Regions from separate parts of the Homo sapiens genome. Here all the other regions are linked to region 4. The links are contacts of gene promoters, found by promoter capture Hi-C in blood cells and fetal thymus (Javierre and others, 2016). All regions are on one chromosome and are shown on one strand. The core of a region is centred on a gene start or on the middle of the fragment in contact, and the rest is flanking DNA. Distances in the headings are between cores, read along the strand shown. Region 1 holds the start of CES4A (carboxylesterase 4A). Region 2 holds the start of ZDHHC1 (zDHHC palmitoyltransferase 1). Region 3 has its middle 9.4 kb from the start of CBFB. Region 4 holds the start of NOL3 (nucleolar protein 3).

Region 1 (3,053 bases), core at 433-2,932, 180 kb after region 4:
GACCTGCCTGGCCAGCATGGCGAAACCCCATCTCCACTAAAAAAATACAAAAATTAGCTGGGCTTGTGGTGTACGCCTGTAGTCCCAGCTACTTGGGAGGCTGAGGTGGGGAGAATTGCTTGAACCCGGGAGGTGGAGGTTGCGGTGAGCGGAGATGGCACCATTGCACACCAGTCTGGGTGACAGGGCGAGACTCCGTCTCAAAAAAAAAAAAAAAAAAAAAGAAAAGATGAAAAGAAAATGCGCCAAAATGTTAAAAGCGGAGTAAGCAAAGTTTCCTTCAAATTTAAAATAATGGATATATGTATATATGGGCAAAATTTATTTATGATAGAGGTCAGACTAGTGGTAACTTTGAGTATTGACTGAGAAGGAGTACATGGGACGCTGGAGATGGTTTTTTGTTTTTTTTTTTGAGATAGAGTTTCGCTCTTGTTGCCCAGGCTGGAGTGCAATGGCACGATCTCGGCTCACTACAACCTCTGCCTCCTGGCTTCAAGCGATTCTCCTGCCTCAGCCTCCTGAGTAGCTGGGATTACAGGCATGTGCCACCATGCCTGGCTAGTTTTGTATTTTTAGTAGAGACGGGGTAATAATATTGGTTAGGCTGGTCTCAAACTCCTGACCTCAGGTGATCTGCCCGCTTCGGCCTCCCAAAGTGCTGGGATTACAGGTGTATCCTTGTAAGTTAAAAAAACTTTTTAAAAAATGTTTTTTAAAAATAGAGACAGAGTCTATTTACCCAGGCTAGGTCTCACTATTTGCCCAGGCTGGTCTCAAACTCCTGGGCTCAAGTAATCCTCCCACCTCAGCCTCTCAAAGTGCTGGAATTACAGGCATGAGCTACCATGCCTAACCCACTGGAAATGTTCTAGATGTTGATCTGGATAATGGTTACCATATATATATATATAATAATTAGTATAATAGATATAATTATACAGTGAAGATGTGTGCACCTTGCTGTATACATCTTATACCTCAGTAAACTTTTGTTAATGTATTAGATTGTTTTCACAGTAAAAAGTGTAGTACTCATTTTAAAAAGAAAGATATTGGGGAGAAATTTGAAGGTGGTAAAGAGGTTCATGTAGCAGAGAGGGGGCAGAGACAGGCCTCCTGCTTAGGAGAAGGAAAGAAGGATGGAAGGAAGGAAAAAGGTGGGAAGGAAGAAAAGATGTGGCCATGTTCTCAGACCCCTTCACCTGTGCCGGGAGGCAGGAAATACAGAGAAGCCCTGAGGTTCAGGGAGGCTAAAGGACTTGTCCAGACTCCCAGCTGGTAGATGGTTTAGTGTCCTGAAACCCTACCCTCCATTTGCCCAGGCCTTGTCTAAGTGCTCCTGCCCTGCTGTCCCCAGGAGAGGTTGAACTGGGGCCTGTCCCTCCATCCCTTGTGCCCGTCTTGCCTGACACTCTCGGGAAGGGGTGGGGGTCTTACCCAAGGCCGTCTGCGCCATCAGGCAGAGGGTGAGGCTCCAGCACAGAATCCACCTCATGCTCCAGCCAGCTCCTGCTGTGGGCAGGAGTGATGGCAACACTGTGGATGGCAACACTGTGGATGGCATGGTAGCCGTGTCTACAGTGTGTGAGCACACTTTTATCTGCTCTTAATCCCTGCCAGCAAGTACTGGGGCGGGAGGAATTGTAACCAGCTTCTGACCAGCCCACAGCCTTGTCTCTGCCTTGGGCAACAGGTCACGCTAGATGATCTTGGCTCTTCAAACTGATCAGCCTGCAATCTCCGCCCCGTTTGCTCATCTGTGCAGTGGCTTAAAGCTGAACATGTGTGAGTCAAGGTCTAAGCATACAGTGGGTGCCAAGATTGAAGTAGAACACCTGGTTACTTGGCCCTTCAGCCAGGGCTTCCTGTCTGTGGATTTAAGGGTCTTGGGCCTCCCTGCTCCCCAGTGCCTCGTCTAGCCTCTTCCCTGCCTTTCCTCGCACATGCTGACCCTTGGCTGTCCTCACAGTTTCATAGTCCACATGCGGAAGCTGGACCTGAAAGCAACCGTAATGTGGGAGCCCAGAGGGGCACCCGAGGAGTGAGCCCAGAGCCGGGTGGTGGGAATGAAGATTCCCTGGAAAAGATCTAATCTTCTAAGTAAAGGATGAGGAGGAGTGGGCCAGGCAAAGAAAGATCCTGTTTGAAGTTTGGAGCCACAGGAGCAAGTGTGGGAGGTGGAAGCAAGGAGACAGCAGTCCCATCTTCAGTCAAAGGTAAGATGGGGCTGGGTGTGGTGGCTCATGCCTGTAATACCAGCACTTTGGAAGGCTGAGGCAGGTGGATCACCTGAGGTCAGGAGTTCGAGACCAGCCTGGCCAACATGGTGAAACCCCGTCTCTACTAAAACAAAGAATACAAAAATTAGCTGGGCGTGGTAGTGTGTGCCTGTAGTCCCAGCTACTCAGGAGGCTGAGGCAGGAGGATGGCTTGAACCTGGGAGGCGGAGGTTGTAGTGAGCCGAGATCGGGCCACTGCACTCCAGCCTGGGTGACAGAGTGAGACCCTGTCTCAAAAATAAATAGGCCAGGCACGGTGGCTCATGCCTGTAATCCCAACACTTTGGGAGGCTGAGGCAGGCGGGTCACGAGGTCAGAAGATCGAGACCATCCTGGCTAACACCCCGTCCCTACTAAAAATACAAAAAATTATCCGGGCGTGGTGGCACGCGCCCGTAGTTCCAGCTACTCAGGAGGCTGAGGCAAGAGAATTGCTTGAAACCAGGAGGCGGAGCTTGCAGTGAGCCAAGATGGCGTCACTGTACTCCAGCCTGGGCGACAGAGTGAGACTCCATCTCAAAGAACAAAAAAAAGGTAAGATGTTTCCTCTCTCGTGTACCCCCAAAGTCTGGGGTCCTGGCCCATCTTTGTGAAAAGAGGGTCTGTTGGGCTTCTGTGCTGGGGAGGGGAAAAGGCAGGGGAACAGAGAACTTCTCCCTTGGCCCACAGCCTCTTGCTCTATAGGCCTGACAGATGGTTAAACCTCCTTCTTTCACAGTCAATTTTCTGAGTTCTTCGGAGATGCTCTTTATTTGGGACTCCTCTCCCACA
Region 2 (3,325 bases), core at 523-3,022, 250 kb before region 4:
CGTGAGTAGCTGGGACTATAGGCACAGGCCACCAGGCCCAGCTATTTTTTTTCATCTTTTGTAGAGATGGGAGTCTCTCTATGTATCCCAGGCTGGTCTCAAACTCCTGGCTTCAAGTGATTTTCCTGCCTCAGCCTCCTTAAAGTGCTGGGATTACAGGTGTGAGCCACTGCATCCAGCCTCATCCTTCACCTTGATTTCTGGGTCATGATCTCTGTTTGACCCGAAGTTTTCCAATTCCAGATAAGAGTTAAGTAGTCAGCTTGTACTCTGAAGCCAGAATAGCATTGATATTTATCTCACATTGAGTTTGAGTTTATCAGTCTTGAAAACAAGAATTTAAGTAATAGGTTATGTCACTTGCACAAGGACCCACACACCTGTCATGTGACAGAGAAGGAGTAGTTATGTTGCCTAATAAAACATACAATAAGTATGCTTGTGACTTATACATTTTAGAGATAAGGATGTTTTCTTTCCCTATCTGTCATATCTGCCTTGGAGATGCGCACAGGACAGATAGCAGAAGACAAAGTGTCTTCCTGTCTTTTGAGAAAGCCTGAGCTCATAGAAGATTCCATTCTGAGTGTCCACAAGGAGAAGAGGAGAGGGGACTTTTAGGGAAACCAAGTTAGCAGGGAAGTCTCCCAGGTAGAGAAAGGGAAGGGAGGCTGCAGGCCATGGAGCAGAGGAAGCAGGTGTCTGTCCCTGGCAGCCCCAGGGAGAGGCAGGGGCCTCAGGCAGGGATGGCCTCATAGAGCCCAAACCTGAAAATCTTTGTGGACTGGAGCAATGGTTGTGGCCTCAGTACCAGACAAAACCCTGACCAGAGAGTTTTTTGCTTATTTGTTTTTGATTGTTGTTTTTTGCTATAGGAAAACATGAGTCCTTTGGAATTACCTAGCTAAAAGGAGTACAGTGGAGACTGAGACTGAATTTCCCGGCCGGGCAGGGGCTCACGCCTGTAATCCTAGCACTTTTGGAGGCTGAGGTGGGCGGGTCGCTTGAGTTCAGGAGTTCGAAACCAGCCTGGGCAACATGGCAAAACCACGCCTCTACAAAAAAATGCGAAAATTAGTCGGGCGTGGTGGTGTTCGCCTGTAGTCCTAGCTACTCTGGAGGCTGAGGCGGGAGGATCGCCTGAGCCCAGGAGTTCGAGGCTGCAGAGAGCCGTGATCGTGCCACTGCACTCCAGCCTGGGTAACAGAGACCAGTTTAAAAAATAGAAAAAGACTGAATTTCCCATCAGCCTGGAAGATTGGGGCTTGATTTTTGCTTGATTTAAAGGCAATAAATAAATGAGATATTTTGTGCTGCTTATTTTAAGCTCTTACGCTTCTCGCTTTATATTCTGGGGTACCTGCATTTTTAGTGGTGTAATTTATTTGTCTAGATCTGTTTGCCTCTTAACCTGTAAGCTCCCGGAAGGGTCGGGATATCATGGATGTTCCAGCACATACGCTCATTGAAGTGTGCAGGTTGACTGGGGTTGGGGGAGGTCTCTTCTTGAGAGCGGTGGTCTCAGGATAGAAACTGGAAGGGGGCGCTTTTGAGATGTTAGGATTTCGGGGAGACAAGCTGTGACTCGGGAGTAGGGAAAAGCGGATTTTCTAGACGAAAGGTTAGGAAGAATCTGGGAATGGGCCGACTGGGGCACCAAGAGGGTCCCTGGCAAGCCCCGCCCTGGCCGGGGGACCGGCGCGGAGTGACGCAGCGCGGTTTGGCCGCTGTGGGGCGCCGTAGCCCGCGCCGTTGTCAGGGGAACGGGCCCAGCGCCGGACGAGGCCCAGCCAGTCTGGGTCTGGCCTGGCCGCCCCTCCAGCCTGCTGGAGCCGGAGCCGGAGCCGGAGCCGGAGCCGGAGCCGGAGCCAGAGCCAGAGCTCGAGGACTCACCGGCCCAGTCTCCGTCCGGGATGGGGCCCCGCTCCCGGGCGCGTTGCCGCCCAGTCCCGGGGACCGTCCCTACCGCGAGGGTCTGAGGCGCGGCTGCCCCGGGGAGGGTGGAAGGCCAGGCGTGGGGCCCGAACCTCTGGCTGACTTTGGCAGGGCCCATCTGGCACGGCCTCCGCGGCGCGCAGGTGAGGAGTCCCCGCCCGGTTTCTCACCTCGGAGCCTGGCTTGAGCCACGGGGTAGCGGATGCTGCCGCCTGGCCGGCTTTGGGCTCGCTTCCGCCTGGAGCCGGTGGCCTGAGTTCCAGGGCCCCGGCAGAGCGCGGGGCTTCCTTTTAGCATGCATCAAGTTCACAGATCTTCCTTGAGCGCTTACTCTTTGCCAGGCTCTGTGCCAGGCGTGGGCACAGAGGACTCCCAACAGACGTGGTCTGTCTCCAGAACCCAGAGCATTAAGGAAGGGGGCTGGGAAGCGGATGTCATACATGACTAAAGTGATTTCAGGTCGGGTTAGGCTCTCTGGTATTGAAATGGAGGGGTTGGTCATGGAGGGTCTGTTTTAAAAGGAAACCATGGGAAGAGTTTTAGTTTTTTCTTTGAGACGGAGTTTCGCTCTTGTCACCCAGGCTGGATGGAGCGCAGTGGCACGACTCGGGTCATTGCAACCTCCGCCTCCCGGGTTCAAGCCATTCTGCTGCCTCAGCCTCTGGAGTAGCTGGGATTACAGGCGCCCGCCGCCACGCCCGGCTAAGTTTTATATTTTTAGTAGGGACGGGGTTTCACCATGTTGGCCAGGCTGTTCTCGAACTCCTGACCTCAGGTGATCCACCCGCCTCGGCCTCCGAAAGCGTTGGGATTACAGGTGTGAGCCACCGTTCCCAGCCAATTTTTTATTTTTTTGAGACAAGGTCTCCCTTTGTCACCCAGGCTGGAGTGCTGTGGTGTGAACATGGGTCACCGCAGGCTCCGGCTCCCGGGCTCAAGCGATCCTCCCGCCTCAGCCTCCCAAGTAGCTGAGACTACAGATACCCGCCACCACGCTCAGCTAATTTTTTAAGGTTTTGGTAGAGATGAGGTCTTACTATTTTGCCCAGGCTGGTCTCGAGCTCCTGGTCTCAAGGGATCCTCTTGCCTCAGCCTCCCAAAGTGCTGGGATTACAGGTGTGAGCCACTGCAAGCGGCAGAAGAGTTTTTTATTTTTTGTTTATTTTTATTTTTATTTTCCAGATGGAGTCTCGCTCTGTCACCCAGGCTGGACTGCAATGGCACAATCTCGGCTCACTGCAACCTCCACCTCCCGGGTTCAAGCGATTCTCCTGCCTCAGCCCCCCAAGTCTGGGATTACAGGCGCCTGCCACCACACCCAGCTAATTTTTGTATTTTTAGTAGAAACGGGGTTTCAACATGTTGGCCAGGCTGGTCTTGAACTCCTGAC
Region 3 (3,043 bases), core at 72-2,571, 150 kb after region 4:
GAGTAGTTGGGACTACAAGTGCACACCACCACGTCTGGCTAATTGTTACTTTTTCTTTTTTCAATATAGAGTCACATTCTGTTAGCCAGGCTGGGGTGCAGTGGTGGCATCATTGCTCGCTGCAGCCTCAAACTCCTGGGCTCAAGTGATCCTCCTGCCTCAGTCTCACAATAGCTGAGACCACAGGCACACACCACTCCACCTGGCTAATCCATGCTTGCTTGCTTGCTTCCTTCCTTCCTTCCTTCCTTCCTTTCTTCCAGAGACGGGGTCTTGTTATGTTGCTCAGGCTGGTCTCGAACTTCTGGGCACAAGTAATCTTACCACCTTGGCCTCCGAAAGTGCTGGGGTTACAGGCACAAGCCACTGCATAAAGCAATTTTCCAAACACTCTCTCGCTGGCCTCTCCTTAATTTCTTCAAGATAAAGAGGGAAGGCCGGGCATGGTGACTCACATCTGTAATCCCAACACTTTGGGAGGCCGAGGTGGGGGGATCACGAGGTCAGGAGATTGAGACCATCCTGGCTAACACGGTGAAACCCTGTCTCTACTAAAAATACAAAAAAATAGCTGGGCGTGGCACATGCCTGTAGTCCCAGCTACTCTGGAGGCTGAGGCGGTAGAATCGCTTGACCCCAGGAGGCAGAGGTTGCAGTGAGCCAAGATCGTGCCACTGCACTCCAGCCTGGGTGACACAGCGAGACACCATCTCAAAAAAAAAAAAAAAAAAAAATGCCGGGCGCGGTGGCTCACGCCTGTAATCCCAGCACTTTGGGAGGCCAAGGCGGGTGGATCACGAGGTCAGGAGATGGAGACCATCCTGGCTAACACAGTGAAACCCCGTCTCTACTAACAATACAAAAATTAGCCAGGCGTAGTGGCGGGTGCCTGTAGTCACAGCTACTCGGGAGGCTGAGGCAGGAGAATGGCGTGAACCCGGGAGGCGGAGCTTGCAGTGAGCCGAGATTGTGCCACTGCACTCCAGCCTGGGCGACAGAGCAAGACTCCATCTCAAAAAATAAAAAATAAAAAATTAAATAAATAAATAAAGGATAAAGAGGGAAATAATTACTGTCTTATTTTGTAGCTCTTGAAATTGAGACTCAGAACAGGTGACTGGACTCATTCAAGGGCATATAGCCAGGTAGACTCAGAGAGAGAGAGATCCCAGAGAAGTCCTGCAGTTGAAGAAATGCAGTCACTTAACTCTTTAATTTTTTTTTTCTTTAGAGGTGGGGGTGTCTTGCTATATTGCTGCTCAGGTTGGTCTTGAACTCCTGGCCTCAAGTGATCCGCCTTCCTCGGCCTCCCAAAGTGCTGGGATTACAGGTGTGAGCCACAGCGCCCAGCCTATTTTATTTTATTTTATTCGTTCAAGGCTGTTTCTCAGTGTGAACTATTTCATTTCACTATTCCTTTTTTTTTTTTTTTTTTTGGAGATGAGGTCTTGCTATATTGCCCAGGCTGGAGTGCAACAGCTACTCACAGGCACGATCCCACTACTGATTAGCACAGGAGTTTTGACCTGCTCCATTTTCGACCTGGGCTGGTTCACCCCTCCTTAGGCTACCTGGTGGTCCCTCGTTCCTAGGAGATCACCATATCGATGCCACACTTAGTGCAGACACCTAATCAACATAGTGAATTACAGCCCAGAACTCCTGGGCTCAAGCAATCCTCCCGTCTCAGCCTCCCGAGTAGCTGGGACTGCAGGCACATGCCACTGTACCTGGCTAGTTTTCCGTTTTACCTTCCTTCACATGCTGACTCACCCTCAAGTGGTACCCATTCTCTTTCCTGATGTTTCTACAAAAATCTTGAGATTGAGCTTAATAGTCCAAGTCTGGGTTATCTGGTCATCCCTGAGCTGTGGTGTGGACACGGTGAATTGCCGAGGACAGGGTGGTGTCACGGGAAAAGGAATGGCTGTACCGTGCAGGCAAAAACATCAGAAGGTACCTGGGTTAGTGTCTAGCACAAAGTTGTAAGTGTTCAAAGAACGGTGGCTATGACACTGTTTATGGTCCCTTCTAGCTCTGAAATGCTATGAGTTGTACAACGCTTTGGTTGATACAAAGCCATCTGTAAACGTTGCCAGTAAGGGAAGCACAGGATAACAATTTGAGTTCACATAAGGTCTAGCCAAAATGCCATACAATGAGCTGAAAGGGTGCCTGAAACCAGGTGCAGTGGCTCACACCTGTAAGCCCAGCACTTTCGGAGGCCAAGGCAGGTGGGTCATCTGAGGTCAGGAGTTCTAGACCAACCTGGCCAACATGGCGAGACCCCATCTCTACTAAAAATACAAAAATCAGCTGGGTGTGGTGGCTTATGCCTGTAATCCCAGCTACTTGGGAGGCTGAGGCACGAGAATAGCTTAAACCTGGGAGGTGGAGGCTGCAGTGAGCCGAGATCGTTCCACCGCACTCCAGCCTGGGCGACAGAGCAAGATTCCGTCTCAAAAAAAAAAAAAAAAAAAAGTAAATGCCTGTGGCCTGCCTCCTTTTCTTTTTTCTTTATTCTTTTTTTTTTTTTTTTTGAGATGGAGTCCTACTCTGTCACCCAGGCTGGAGTGCAGTGGTGCGATCTTGCTCATTGCAACCTCTGCCTCCCGGTTTCAACGTTTCAAGCGATTCTCCTGTCTCAGCCCCCCGAGTAGATGGGATTACAGGCGAGCACCACCATGCCCAGCTAATTTTTTGTATTTTTAGTAGAGACGGGGTTTCACCATGTTGGCCAGGCTAGTCTTGAACTCCTGACCTCAGGAGATCTGCCCACCTTGGCCTCCCAAAGTGCTGGAATTACAGGCGTGAGCCACCATGCATGGCCTGGCCTGCCTCCTTTAGTAGTGGAGCAGGGGCAGTAGCAGTGCCAGAACCAGGGCATGGCCTGGAAAGGACTTCCTGAGCCTCTGGGGCCTGCTACATCCATAGCTCTTTCAAAAGATCCTGCTTCTATCAGCACTAAATCATCTGGCTGGACCTGGGACTGGACCTGCCCTGGGAGCTGAAGGGAGCCATGCATAGCTAGAGCAGAAGTGCG
Region 4 (3,113 bases), core at 273-2,772:
CTAGCCGCCATCCTGCCTCCCAGGTCTTTCTCAGTACCCTCTGGTGTCACACTATACCTCCCCCGTCACTTCACACCCTGGCTTCCTCCCATTGAAGCCCTTCCCCACCAGGCCGAGACCAGGACTACCCCCTGCCCCTCCATCTCCCTTTATGTCCCGTATGTGATGAATCTTGCTTCTCCACTTCTCAGTGAGTCTCCATCAGCTCCTGCCTTGCCACCCCACCATCGTCACCTCATGTCCTGTAACAGTCCCTCTGAGCCCCTCTCACTCCCATTCTGCCAGGCCCGATAGCACAGTGACTTTGACAACCCTCTGGGCTAGGATTGCTGTTCCCATTTTACAGATGAGGAGACAGGCTCAGAGATTCAGTGGTAAAACTGGAATCTTACTTGCTCCAGCCTGAACTATGAGGAACTGAACTATATTTTCCTGTCTAGCAGAATTCCATCCTAAATACCTATCTACCTCCCCCCCACACCCCACTGCCCATCAGAGACAACCCAAAATATCTGGTCTGGCTACTCTAGCCTCCTCCCACCACCCTGGACAGCCAGGCCCTTCCCAGCTTCCCTCCACCAGCCAGGGATCGGAGAACTCACTATGCCTCTGGCACCTCGGAGCCTTTGCTGATGCTGATCGCTAAGACTGGAATCCTTTTCTCCTCCCTCCGCTCCGTGGACCTATCCATCGTCCAGGACTCAAATGTTCCCTTGTCTACACCAATGCCTAAGTGTCCCAAGGGCTGGTGGTTCCTTCTTCTGTGTACCGTGAACAACACATGCCCTCACTAGTGCATTAACTGACATCATTGCACTGTGTACACGCAGACTCTCCGCTTTCTTCAACTGAGTTTTCCAGAGTGTCCCTCCAATCGGTGGGCAAAGGAAGGGAGAGGGGGACAGCACCTACTCGGGACAGACACAGGGAGGGTGCAGATTGGATTGGCCCCTCCTTCTCTCCAACCTAAGTTGTTTTCATGTTAGCCGCCTCCTCCTATGACCCCAAGTCCTGCCCTTTATCCTGTCTGGGGGTAGAGACTCCAGCTGGTCTGGGCCCTCCCTTTGAGGCTCACACAGCTCTCAATACCGAAGTTATTTAGCGGCCAGTCCTTCGAGGGTGACAGGTCCGATTCTTCCCAGAGAGCCAGGTGGCGGGGCACGGAGCTGGGTCCCAGCCCCCAACCCCACCTCGCTGCGCGGGCTCTTTGGCCAGGAAGCCAGGGTCTTGGGACAGTGAAGAGCCTTTGCGCATGTGCGACTGCACGGATTTTCCCCCCCCGCCCCTTACCTCCCTCCACCCAGTCCCAGAGCTTGAGAGTCCTGCGGCAGGGCGGGGCCCACAGTCCTACCCACCCCGCCCCCCCGACCCCCGAGCGCCGCAGCGGGTGGTGGGGCGCTGATTCTGCCCAATCTCGGTTTCCCTTCCCTCCCACAGCCGGGAGTGGGGCTCCCGGTCTGGCCCGTTTTGGGCGTCCCCACTCACGGGTCAAGCCTCGGCGGGGCAGGAGATGACGGTGCAGAAAGGGCCGGGCAGGGTGGGGGTGGGTGCAGCAGCTGCGGCGGGGGCGGGGCGGCCAGGGCTGCTGGGAATAGGGAGGGTGAGGGTTCTTCCCCGGGCACTAGGAGCCACACCGCGGAGGCCGCGCGCTGGCTGGGGACGTGCATGTAGTCAGCTTTCCCTCCCCACCCGGGGCGCACCAGGAGATGAGGCCAGGAGGGGGCAGTTCGGCCCGCGGCCCCACACGTCCAGCGCCCACTCAGGGCCTGCCAATTTCCAGGTGCTTTCCATCTATCTTGTCATCGACCCCTCTTCTCTGCCTGTCACAGAGGAAGTTCAGAGAAGGATACCAACTCACCAGGATCACAGAACGCATGCATTGCAGAGCTGAGCGCGACCCAGAAGCCCCCGCTTCCCAGAGATTGCAGCGGCCCCGCGCCAGCCCTGGACCCGGGCCTAAGCAAGGGAGCTAGGCACCGGATCCCCAAGCACCTCCACCCTCCTGGGGTTCCTCTATTAAAAACCTAGTATCTGGACGCTTCTACAAATGCAAAATCACCCCCCACCCATAACTCCTGTGCTCCCTGGTCGATAGAGAAAAGAGACCAGAAACAGAAAAAAAAAAAACGGAGTTTATGTGCAGGGATAGTCGGGGTAGTGGAGAGAGGCCATTTAGTAGTGGGGGCTTCGCTCACCCCCGATAGGGGGCGCCAGGAAGCCAAGAAGGATGTGCAGCGGCGGACTGGTTCCAAGCCCCTTCAGAGGCGCGGGGTCTTAGGGGGAGGGACTGGCTTCCGGGCCCAAGTAGGAGGCAGTCCGGCTCTCAGGAGTGCTATAAATGGTTAAAGCCCCAGGCAGGCCCAGGGCTGGGCCTCCCAAGGCCGCCTGGACATCCAGCAGGAGTGGGGCCCCGAGCGTGGGGTCCTTCCCTAGGAGAAGTGGGACTGCGCTCACCAGGGGAAATGTTCCCCCTCCTTTCTTCAGGGAAGGAGAGCCCTGCCCGCCTGCCTTCTGCTCAGTTAGGATAAAACATCCATTCTTAACCTCCCCACTCTCGCCCAATGGTGAGGGCATGGGTGGCTCAAGGAACGCTCTGCAGTGCAGCCTGAACTCAGGATTTCCCTGCAAATTGCAGATTGCCCCCTCACTCAATCAAGGTAGCTCAGCCCAATCACGGCGTCCTCCCAGGTAGGAGTCATCACAACCATTACCTGGGCTTGGAGAATTTAACCCCTTGACCGCCAGCTCAGGCTCACCCCGCTCTGGAACCAAGGGCTGCATCTGCGTGAGAACCGCAGGGAGCAGCTGGGGAGGGGACCTAGCAGCTGAGGGGGACAGCTGGGAAATCACTGTGACAATTCTTCTAGAGACACGGCTTTGGCTCACAGAGAACAGCTATGGACCAGAGGGCTTGACTCAGCCACCCCTGGCCTCTGCCCTCCCCGACCCACTTCTTACCAAGGACAGCTCCATGTCCAAGTCCATCAGGGTCCATTCTCGCCCTTGGAGACTGGGGCCCAGCACCTGAGGAGAGCTCTGGGTCAGTGGTGCCCTCCCCAGGCTCCACAGAGAGCTAGACCCCACCAGGTCTCATGCCCCTGTTTCAGCAGAAG

What was found. Contacts are between HindIII fragments. The CHiCAGO score rates a contact against its expected background, and 5 or more counts as called.
Region 1: the fragment with the promoter of CES4A here is called in contact with the fragment with the promoter of NOL3 in region 4 in 17 of 17 cell types (endothelial precursors, fetal thymus, non-activated CD4 T cells and 14 more); the score reaches 13.3 in endothelial precursors.
Region 2: a contact is called between the fragment with the promoter of ZDHHC1 here and the fragment with the promoter of NOL3 in region 4, in 1 of 17 cell types (erythroblasts). The highest score is 5.5, in erythroblasts.
Region 3: a contact is called between a fragment that was not itself captured here and the fragment with the promoter of NOL3 in region 4, in 15 of 17 cell types (erythroblasts, naive CD4 T cells, non-activated CD4 T cells and 12 more). The highest score is 10.1, in erythroblasts.

What each region holds. Positions count from the first base shown.
Region 1 is chr16:66,987,218-66,990,270 of GRCh38, reverse strand. CES4A (carboxylesterase 4A) reads right to left here and starts at 1,682. Exons shown (of 14, transcript NM_001364782.1): 1 at 1,441-1,682. The coding sequence starts at 1,498. The HindIII fragment of the contact is 37,432 bases long and covers 1-3,053 here.
Region 2 is chr16:67,414,924-67,418,248 of GRCh38, reverse strand. ZDHHC1 (zDHHC palmitoyltransferase 1) reads left to right here and starts at 1,772. Exons shown (of 12, transcript NM_001323627.2): 1 at 1,772-2,078. It overlaps LOC124903702 (a long non-coding RNA gene), which reads right to left and starts at 2,346. Exons shown (of 2, transcript XR_007065093.1): 1 at 2,106-2,346. RefSeq lists an enhancer at 1,226-1,883 and a silencer at 1,716-2,105. The HindIII fragment of the contact is 9,596 bases long and covers 1-3,325 here.
Region 3 is chr16:67,018,211-67,021,253 of GRCh38, reverse strand. It overlaps the pseudogene RN7SL543P. Among named protein-coding and RNA genes, the nearest start is that of CBFB, 9.4 kb to the left of the region's middle. The HindIII fragment of the contact is 5,986 bases long and covers 1-3,043 here.
Region 4 is chr16:67,168,947-67,172,059 of GRCh38, reverse strand. It overlaps NOL3 (nucleolar protein 3), which reads right to left and starts at 1,522. Exons shown (of 4, transcript NM_001276309.3): 1 at 1,486-1,522. HSF4 (heat shock transcription factor 4) reads right to left here. Exons shown (of 13, transcript NM_001374675.1): 11 at 2,959-3,024; 12 at 2,712-2,781; 13 at 2,119-2,429. The coding sequence ends at 2,275. RefSeq lists a silencer at 1,276-1,565 and enhancers at 1,776-1,925, 2,416-2,465. The HindIII fragment of the contact is 13,408 bases long and covers 1-3,113 here.